3 separate regions of the Homo sapiens genome follow, and regions 1 and 3 are each linked to region 2. The links are contacts of gene promoters, found by promoter capture Hi-C in human tissues and cell types (Jung and others, 2019). All regions are on one chromosome and are shown on one strand. The core of a region is centred on a gene start or on the middle of the fragment in contact, and the rest is flanking DNA. Distances in the headings are between cores, read along the strand shown.

Evidence for each region. Contacts are between HindIII fragments. The study calls those that stand out against the background at their distance.
Region 1: a contact is called between a fragment that was not itself captured here and the fragment with the promoter of GNAQ in region 2, in 1 of the 25 tissues and cell types used here (dorsolateral prefrontal cortex).
Region 3: a contact is called between a fragment that was not itself captured here and the fragment with the promoter of GNAQ in region 2, in 1 of the 25 tissues and cell types used here (mesenchymal stem cells).

What each region holds. Positions count from the first base shown.
Region 1 is chr9:77,661,929-77,664,887 of GRCh38, reverse strand. No RefSeq gene overlaps it. Among named protein-coding and RNA genes, the nearest start is that of GNA14, 15 kb to the right of the region's middle. The HindIII fragment of the contact is 7,591 bases long and covers 1-2,959 here.
Region 2 is chr9:78,030,546-78,033,441 of GRCh38, reverse strand. GNAQ (G protein subunit alpha q) reads left to right here and starts at 1,631. Exons shown (of 7, transcript NM_002072.5): 1 at 1,631-2,342. The coding sequence starts at 2,207. RefSeq lists an enhancer at 1,548-2,442. The HindIII fragment of the contact is 13,439 bases long and covers 1-2,896 here.
Region 3 is chr9:77,625,787-77,628,915 of GRCh38, reverse strand. The region is part of intron 1 of GNA14 (G protein subunit alpha 14); the gene reads left to right. Among named protein-coding and RNA genes, the nearest start is that of GNA14, 21 kb to the left of the region's middle. The HindIII fragment of the contact is 5,566 bases long and covers 1-3,129 here.

The DNA of each region.
Region 1 (2,959 bases), core at 153-2,652, 370 kb after region 2:
TCCAGTGCACAAACCCTGATCATATCCTAGATTAAAATAATAAACAGCCATAAAAAATATTTTTGAGACAACTTGGTGTATTTGAATATGGATTGTACGTTATATTATGGAATTTTACATTTCTCAGTGTAATAATAATATCGTGTGTTTATAAGAGAATGCACTTATTTTAGGCAGTGTTGGTTGAATTATTTAGAGGAGAAGAGCCGTGATGTTTGCAACTTACTTTCAAATCATTTAGTGAATTCATATTTTCAGAGAGTAAAAAGATAAAGCAGATATGGGGGAAAGTTAACAACTGGTGAATCTAGGTAAAGAGTTTACAACTGTTCATTATATCATTATTGCAAATTATCCGTATGTTTGAAAAACCTCCAAATAAAAAGTAGGGAAAACCTTCATCATAGAGTTACAGCACATAGAGCTGAGAAACTGATTTTTTCTTTATTTTTTTAGAAGTATTTTGAGAAATGACCGTTACCGAGGAAGAGTGTTACACACGAGCATACTCATTAATAAAATGTCTCTAATAGAGAAAATACTCTCTATTGCAGAGAGCTCCCCTTCTCCATGATCCCTAAGCCTGTGGGGCACATCACAGCACTATTAGGCTGTGTCCTTTTAAGTGTATTGATAGACCCATCTCCCTGACAGGACTGGAAGTTCCATCAGAAAAGAGTTCAAGTCCTACCCATCTCTCTGACCCCAGCTGCAGATTCTAATAAACATTTGTGAAAGATGGAAAGAAGGTATGATTGATAGACAGCAGTTGCCAGGGTAGTTTGGAAGACAGCCTTAAAACCAAACTCAGTATTTGAAACCAGAAATAATCCTGGACTTGGTTGCATGCCACCGGAGAAGAGCTTGTGCCCGCCTGGCCGGCTCAGCTGCTTTTATGCTCAGTGGGGTCATTAAACTTGTCAGACTTGTTTGCACTGGCAAGCAGGTCATTGGAGCCAGTTCCTCATAAGGCACTTAGCGACTTCAGGGTCCCATTGCAGTGCATTACACACAAAATGAGCAAAAAGCCAAAGAAAATAAAGACAGTGGCCAGAGGGAAACTACGTCACTCTTTTAAATAATCATCCAAACAGAAACAAAAATCACTGACACTGAAAAGCCATCTTTTAGTTTAATTATGTAATCATTCACCAAGATCTCTTTGCTCTCCAAATTTTACCAAGCAAGCACTAGAATGTTCGACCTTATTAGCAGGATCCTTATTTCTTCTATTTTTTTCAGATTCAACTAAATAATCTTGATACAGGTACAGGTTTTTCTGACAAGTTGGCTCTCAATAATCAACTGATGCCATATCAAAGAGAGACAGCTTATAAAAAGAACAGGTTCAGGAGAACTTTAACATAAAGATTCTTCTATGTCCTCACAAAATTTGGTAAGTTTGCTGCATCTAAATAGTTTATGAATACAAGCATTTTTAAAAAAAAAAACCTATTTGACCACAGATCCTTAAGTAGTAACTGAAGACACAATCAAGATCATCTGGGAAGGAAAGACGATTTGGCAGAATGTCAGACCAAAACAGGATCCCCACGTTGCTGAAAAGACCCATTTGCTCATTTATATTAAGTGTAACTACTGCCTGGTCCATGTTCAGCTTATTCTTGTGACAAACTAGGAAGAATCTGATGGCCATTTACCATTATCCTTTCTTGCAGAAGTTGATAAAGTAGGTATTGAAATATCAGGGCACTGTAAAATAATCATAACTAGACCTCAAGGTATTATATTTTTCCTATCACTAACACTTACTTCTTCATTTCTCATAGGTGAGGTTCATTAGCCATGGTTTTTATGTTTTTTTTTTTTTTTGAGATGGAGTCTCCCTCTGTTGCTCAGGCTGGAGAGTGCAATGGCACAATCTCGGCTCACTGCAGCCTCCACCTCTGGTGTTCAAGCGATTCTCCTGCCTCAGCCTCCTGAGTACCTGGGATTACAGGCACCCACCACCATGCCTGGCTAATTTTGTATTTTTAATAGAGACGGGGTTTCACCATGTTGGCCAGGCTGGTCTCGAACTCCTGACCTCAGGTGATCCACCCGCCTTGGCCTCCCAAAATGCTGGGATTACAAGCGTGAGCCACATGCCTAGCCTAAGCCATGATTCTTTTGATTGCAAGTGACAGAAACTCAATCTACACTGGCTTAAACAAACAAGGAAATTTCTTGGCTCAGTTAACTGGGAATATGGGGTTCATATCAGGGGACCAAATCAGGACATGACTGTCTTCCTCACTCTGCTTCTCTTTGCTTGTATCTTTGCTGGTGCCACACTCAGGTAGAACTGTTCCATGTATTTGCAAAGATGACCATGAGCAGCCCCAGGTTATTTTATATTTTAAACTAGACATCCTAAAGAAAGGAGGACACAGGCTGGGCGCGGTGGCTCACGCCTGTAATCCCAGCACTTTGGGAGGCCGAGGCAGGTAATCACCTGAGGTCGGGAGTTCGAGACCACCTGACCAACATGGAGAAACCCCATCTCTATTAAAAATACAAGTTAGCCGGGCATGGTGGTGCATGCCTGTAATCCCAGCTACTCGGGAGGCTGAGGCAGGAGAATCACTTGAACCGGGAGGCACACAGGCAGAGTGTTATCTGCTGATGAGGGCATCAGCATCACCTGGGAATTTCTAGAAATGCAAAACTTTGGGCCCTACCTAGGGTAACCAAACATCTGTGCTTGCCAGGGGGGCTGGGCTTCTGATGCTAAAACTGAAAAAATCCTAGGTAAACTGAGATTTGTTGGTCACCACGGGCTGCAGACCTGCTGACTCAGAATCTCTGGAGTCCAGCTCAGAAATCCGTGCTTTGACCAGCTTTTCAGGTGATTCTCAGACATCATTTCCGAGTTCTTGTTTTAGAGGAGAACACAGTTCAAGCAAAGGCTTGGAGCAAGGAGAGTTGTCTTAAACCGCTCAGCCTTGCTCCTCATTCT
Region 2 (2,896 bases), core at 382-2,881:
TTTAAATCGTGGTTTAGAGTGTGTGTATGTGTGTGAAACGGTGGAGTAATGGCAAATGAAAGAAAGAAGGAAGTTACACACCTGTTGTCTAAGAACCCTATATGAGTTCTTGATCTGTAGCAAAAGCAGAGTCATGACCGTACCTTACACTCTGGATCAGCAGGTTGCACCAGGGACACTTCAGAGAACACATGAAACGTGAAAAAGCGGTTCTCTTCATAAAAGACAATTTTCTTTGAAGACCTCAGGTTCCTTTAAGGCAGGAAGCAATATGAGTTTCATCTCCTGGGCCTGATTAAACAAGATTATTTTCGTGTGCTATTTATCAGTAGACGATCACAATGAAATGTGCATACGACAGTTTACTGCCTCAATCACATATTGCAAATCAAAAAAACTAGAATGCCGTTTTGCTGGGGCCTCCTTAGTTTCTCTTCTATTTCATTCTTTCCTTTCCTTTTATTCCACATTATTTTACATTTTCCCATAAGTCATCCATAATTCAATCTCAGTCTAGAAGAGTAAATTCGATTACTCGGCGGCTAAACATCGTGTGCCTTCTCAGAAACAAGAGAACTTGTAAAACAAAAACAAAAACAACTTAAAAAAACAAAAACAACCAACAACCACCAAAAAAACAAAGGCATGAAAAGTTGGAACCTATCGGGAGGCTCTTGGAAACTTGGGCAGCTTCCTTTCTCTGTTCAGGATTTAGATTTCTATCTCACGTTACTTTGCGAACAGCTTCGCCTGTGAATCTCCCCCTACACCTCTGGGCACCGGTGCCAATTCCTTCCCTTCCCTTCCCCAGTAGCCCCACACAGTATAGAGGAGCTTATTTTCTAAGACTGCACCGGTGTCAGAGGTGACGTGAGAGTTTCTAACCGAATGGCGTTTTAGAAATAGGAACGGGAAACACAGAAACGGCTGAGGAGCGACCCCGTGGAGCAGACAGGCACAGCCCGGGAGCGGCGGACGCCAGCGCCGGCGCCGCAGGGAGCGCGTGCGGGGCTCCGCGGGGCCGCCTCCCGCGACTTCAGCAGGGGCCGCGGCCGCGCTCCCGGGCCGGTGGGCTGAGGCAGGCAGAGGCCGCCATATTCCTGTCTCACCACGCCCGGCCGGACGGCAGCCGCAGGTCGGCTGCGGCCCTGGCACGCAACGGCGGCCGCCGGCTCGGGCTGCGCGTCGGCGGCCGGGTCTGGCCCCGACTTCGGCCGGGGGCGGCCGTGACTGCTGCGCCCGCGGACTCTGCCGAGGGTGCGGGAGCAGTAGGCGTCCGCAGAGCCCGCGGGGGCCGGCCCAGCCCGGGAGCCGCGCGGGCGAGGCGAGAGCCGCACTGGGAGGCGCGCCGCGGCGGCCGCGAGCCCAGGAAAGCCTTCCAGGAGGGGCCGGGCGGCACCGCCTCCCGGCTCCCTCCTCCCGCGCCCATCCCCTCCGCCTCTTCCTCCTCCTCCTTTCGCCGCCGCCTCCTCCCTCCCGGATCTGTGCTCCAGTTCAGAGAAAGAAGAAAATGTGTGTGTGTGGCGAGGGGGAGGGCTCGCACTGAGCAGCCGCTCCGCGCCTGGCAATCGGGGCAGGGGGTGGGCGTCTGGCGGGGGCGGGGGCGGAGGCGGAGGCGGAGGAGCGCGCGGTTGCCGGGCGGGACGGGAACCGGGTCTGCGCGCGAGCCGGGCGGTGGGCGCGGACAGGGCCGAGGGCGCCCGGGAGCCGTGTCAGGCGGCGGCGAGGAGCGGGCGCGCCGGGCGCGGGGAGCCGTCGGCGGCCGCTCGCTGCGGGGACACCCCGGTGAATGAGCTCTCGCCGCCAGGCGCACGGCGTAGGGGAGCCTCGCAGGCGGCGGCGGCGGCGGCGGCTCGGGGGGCGAGGCGGGCCGCCTGTTCCCGGGGAAGGAGGCGCGGGCGTCTGAGCGAGGCCGGGCGCGGCGGCCTTCTCTCACGCGCCCCCCGAGCCAGCGCCCGCCTCCCGCGCCCGCCTCTCTTCTCCCGTCGGCCCAGACTATCCGCTCCCACCGCGCCCCCGGCCCACCTGGTGGCCCCGGCCCTGGCCGCCGCCCCCGCGGCGGTTCCCGGAGCTCGTCCCGGACGCGCGCCCGGGCGGCGGGGGCTCGGCGGCCACCGCTGCCTCGGGGGAGCGAGGGCGGGAGGGTGTGTGTGCGCGCTGTGAGCAGGGGGTGCCGGCGGGGCTGCAGCGGAGGCACTTTGGAAGAATGACTCTGGAGTCCATCATGGCGTGCTGCCTGAGCGAGGAGGCCAAGGAAGCCCGGCGGATCAACGACGAGATCGAGCGGCAGCTCCGCAGGGACAAGCGGGACGCCCGCCGGGAGCTCAAGCTGCTGCTGCTCGGTGAGTACCGTCCGGGGCCCCGCCGGGCCTCTGCGCCCCCAGCCCACCATCCTTGGCCCTGCGGGGCAGCTGCCTTCGGCGCCCCCGCCCCCCGGCGCCCGCGGTTCGCCCCTACCCTCCCGGGCGCGCCCCCGGCCACTGCCTTCACCCGCGCGGGCGCGCGGGCGCGTTACACACAGACACACACACACACACACACACACACACACACAGCGACACACACACGCAGCACAGGGGTCGGGGCTGCCCTGCCCGGTGCCTTGGCTTGTTCCTTTTCGTGTCCCTGAGGGCTGTACCTTATCTGCTGTGCATCTGCTAAATGGCAGATCACTCCGACCAGAGGCGCGGGGGTGGAAAGGTGGGCAGAGGGGTTGAACTTCCAGTGTCGTGGCCGCGGCACCCCATGGGGTGGTGGCGTGGGGAGCCGTGTGTGTGGCCCAGCGGGTGGCGAGCGGAGCCGGGGCACGTTGGGGGATGGCCTGCGGTGGAGTGGCCGGTGTGCATCCATTATCAGTGCCCTATGGGGTCAGGAGGGAATGGGGGAACGGTGGGCA
Region 3 (3,129 bases), core at 568-3,067, 400 kb after region 2:
CAGAAGCTCTTTAGTTTAATTTGATCCCATTTGTCAATTTTGGCTTTTGTTGCCATTGCTTTTGGTGCTTTAGTCATGAAGTCTTTGCCTATGTCTGTGTCCTACATGGTATTGCCTAGGTTTTCTTCTAGGGTTTTTATGGTTTTAGGTCTTATGTTTAAGTCTATAATCCATCTTGAGTTAATTTTTGTGTAAGGGGTAAGGAAGGGGTCCAGTTTCAGTTTTCTGCATATGGCTAGCCAGTTTTCCCAACACTATTTATTAAATATGGAATTCTTTCCCCATTGCTTGTTTTTGTCGGGTTGGTCAAGGATCAGATGGCTCTAGATGTGTAGTGTTAGTCCTGAGGCTTCTGTTCTGTTCCATTGATCTATATATCTGTTTTGGTACCAGTACCATGCTGTTTTGGTTACTGTAGCCTTGTAGTATAGTTTGAAGTCAGGTAGTATGCTGCCTCCAGCTTTGTTCTTTTTGCTTAGGATTGTATTGGCTATATGGGCTCTTTTTTGCTTCCATGTGAAATTTAAAGTAGTTTTTTCTAATTCTGTGAAGAAAGTCAATGGTAGCTTGATGGGGATAGCATTGAATCTATAAATTACTTTGAGCAGTATGACCATTTTCACATTATTGGTTCTATCCGTGAGCATGAAATGTCCTTCCATTTGTTTGTGTCCTCTCTTATTTCCTTGAGCAGTGGTTTGTAGTTCTCTTGAAGAGGTCCTTCACATCCCTTAAAAGTTGGATTCCTAGGTATTTTATTCTCTTTGTAGCAATTGTGAATGGGAGTTCACTCATGATTTGGTTTTCTGTGTGTCTATTATTGGTATATAGGAATGCTTGTGATTTTTGCACATTGATTTTGTATCCTGAGACTTTGCTGAAGTTGCTTATCAGCTTAAGGAGATTTTGGGCTGAGGCACTGGGGTTTTCTAAATATAAAATCATGTCATCTGCAAACAGGGCCAATTTGACTTCCTGTCTTCCTATTTGAATACCCTTTTTTTCTTTCTCTTGCCTGATTGCTCTGGCTAGATCTTCCAATACTATGTTGAATAGGGGTGGTGAGAGAGGGTATCCTTGTCTTGGCCAGTTTTCAAAAGGAATGCTTCCAGCTTTTGCCCATTCAGTATGATATTGGCTGTGGGTTTGTCATAAATAGCTCTTATTATTTTGAGATACGTTCCATCAATACCTAGTTTATTGAGAGTTTTTAGCATGAATGGGTGTTGAGTTTTATTGAAGGCCTTTTCTGCATCTATTGAGATAATCGTGGTTTTTGGGCGTTGGTTCTGTTTACGTGATGGATTACATTTATTAATTTGCGTATGTTGAACCAGCCTGGCATCCCAGGGATGAAGCTGACTTGATTGTGGTGGATAAGCTTTTTGATGTGCTGCTGGATTCAGTTTGCCAGTATTTTATTGAGGATTTTCGCATTGATGTTCATCAGGTGCCTGAATTTCAGGTGGCCTGAAATTTTCTTTTTTTGTTGTGTCTCTGCCAGGTTTTGGTATCAGGATAATGCTGGCCACCTAAAACGAGGTAGGGAAGAGTCCCTCTTTTTCTGTTGTTTGGAATAGTTTCAGAAGGAATGGTACCAGCTCCTTTTTGTACCTCTGGTAGAATTTGGCTGTGAATCCATCTGTTCCTGGCCTTTTTTTGGTTCATAGGCTATTAATTACTGCCTCAATTTCAGAACCTGTTATTAGTCTATTCAGGGATTCACCTTCTTCCTGGTTTAGTCTTGGGAGGGTGTATGTGTCCAGGAATTTATGAATTTCTTCTAGATTTTCTAGTTTATTTATGTAAAGGTGTTTATAGTATTCTCTGATGGTAGTTTGTATTTCTGTGGGATCAGTAGTGATATCCTCTTTATCATTTTTGTGTGTCTATTTGAGTCTTCTCTCTTTTCTTCTTTATTTGTCTTGTTAGTGGTCTATCTATTTTGTTAATCTTTTCAGAAAACCAGCTCCTGCGTTCATTGATTTTTTAAAGGGTTGTTCGTGTCTCTATCTTCTTCAGTTCTGCTCTGATCTTAGCTGTTTCTTGTCTTCTGCTAGCTTTTCAGTTTGTTAGCTCTTGCTTCTCTAGTTCTTTTCATTGTGATGTTAGGGTGTTGATTTTAGATCTTTCCCACTTTCTCCTGTGGGCATTTAGTGCTATAAATTTACTTCTAAACACTGCTTTAGCTGTATCCCAGAGATTCTGGTACATTGTGTGTACTCATTGCTTTCAAATAACTTATTTATTTCTGCTTTAATTTCATTATTTACCTAGTAGTCATTCAGGAGCAGGTTGTTCAGTTTCCTTGCAGTTTTATGATTTTGAGTGAGTTTCTTAATCCTGAGTTCTAATTTGATTGCACTGTGGTCTGAGAGACTGTTTGTTATTATTTCAGTTCTTTTGCATTTGCTGAGGAGGTGTTTTACTTCCAATGATGCGGTCAATTTTAAACTAAGTGCAATGTGGTGCCGAGAAGAATGTATATTCTGTTGATTTGGGGTGGAGAGTTCTGTAGATGTCTATTAGGTCCGCTTTGTCCAGGGCTGAGTTCAAGTCCTGAATATCCTTGTTAATTTTCTGTCTCATTGATCTAATATTGACAATGGGGTGTTAAAGTCTCCCACTATTATTGTGTGGGAGTCTAAGTCTCTTTGTAGGTCTCTAAGAACTTGCTTTGTGAATCTGGGTGCTCCTCTATTGGGTGCATATATATTTAGGATAGTTAGCTCTTCTTTTTGCATTGATCCCTTTACCATTATGTAATGCCCTTATTTGTCTCTTTTGATCTTCGTTGATTTAAAGTCTGTTTTATCAGAGACTAGGATTGCAAACCCTGCTTCTTTTTTTTTTTCTTTCCATTTGCTTGGTAAATATTCCTCCATCCCTTTATTTTGAGCCTATGTGTGTCTTTGCACATGAGATGGGTCTCCTGAATACAGCACACCAAGGGGTCTTGGCTCTTTATCCAATTGGTCAGTCTGTGTCTTTTAATTGGGGCATTTAGCCCATTTACATTTAAGGTTAATATTGTTATGTGTGAATTTTATCCTGTCATTATGATGCTAGCTGGTTATTTTGCACATTAGTTGATTCAGTTTCTTAATAGTGTCGTTATTCTTTACAATT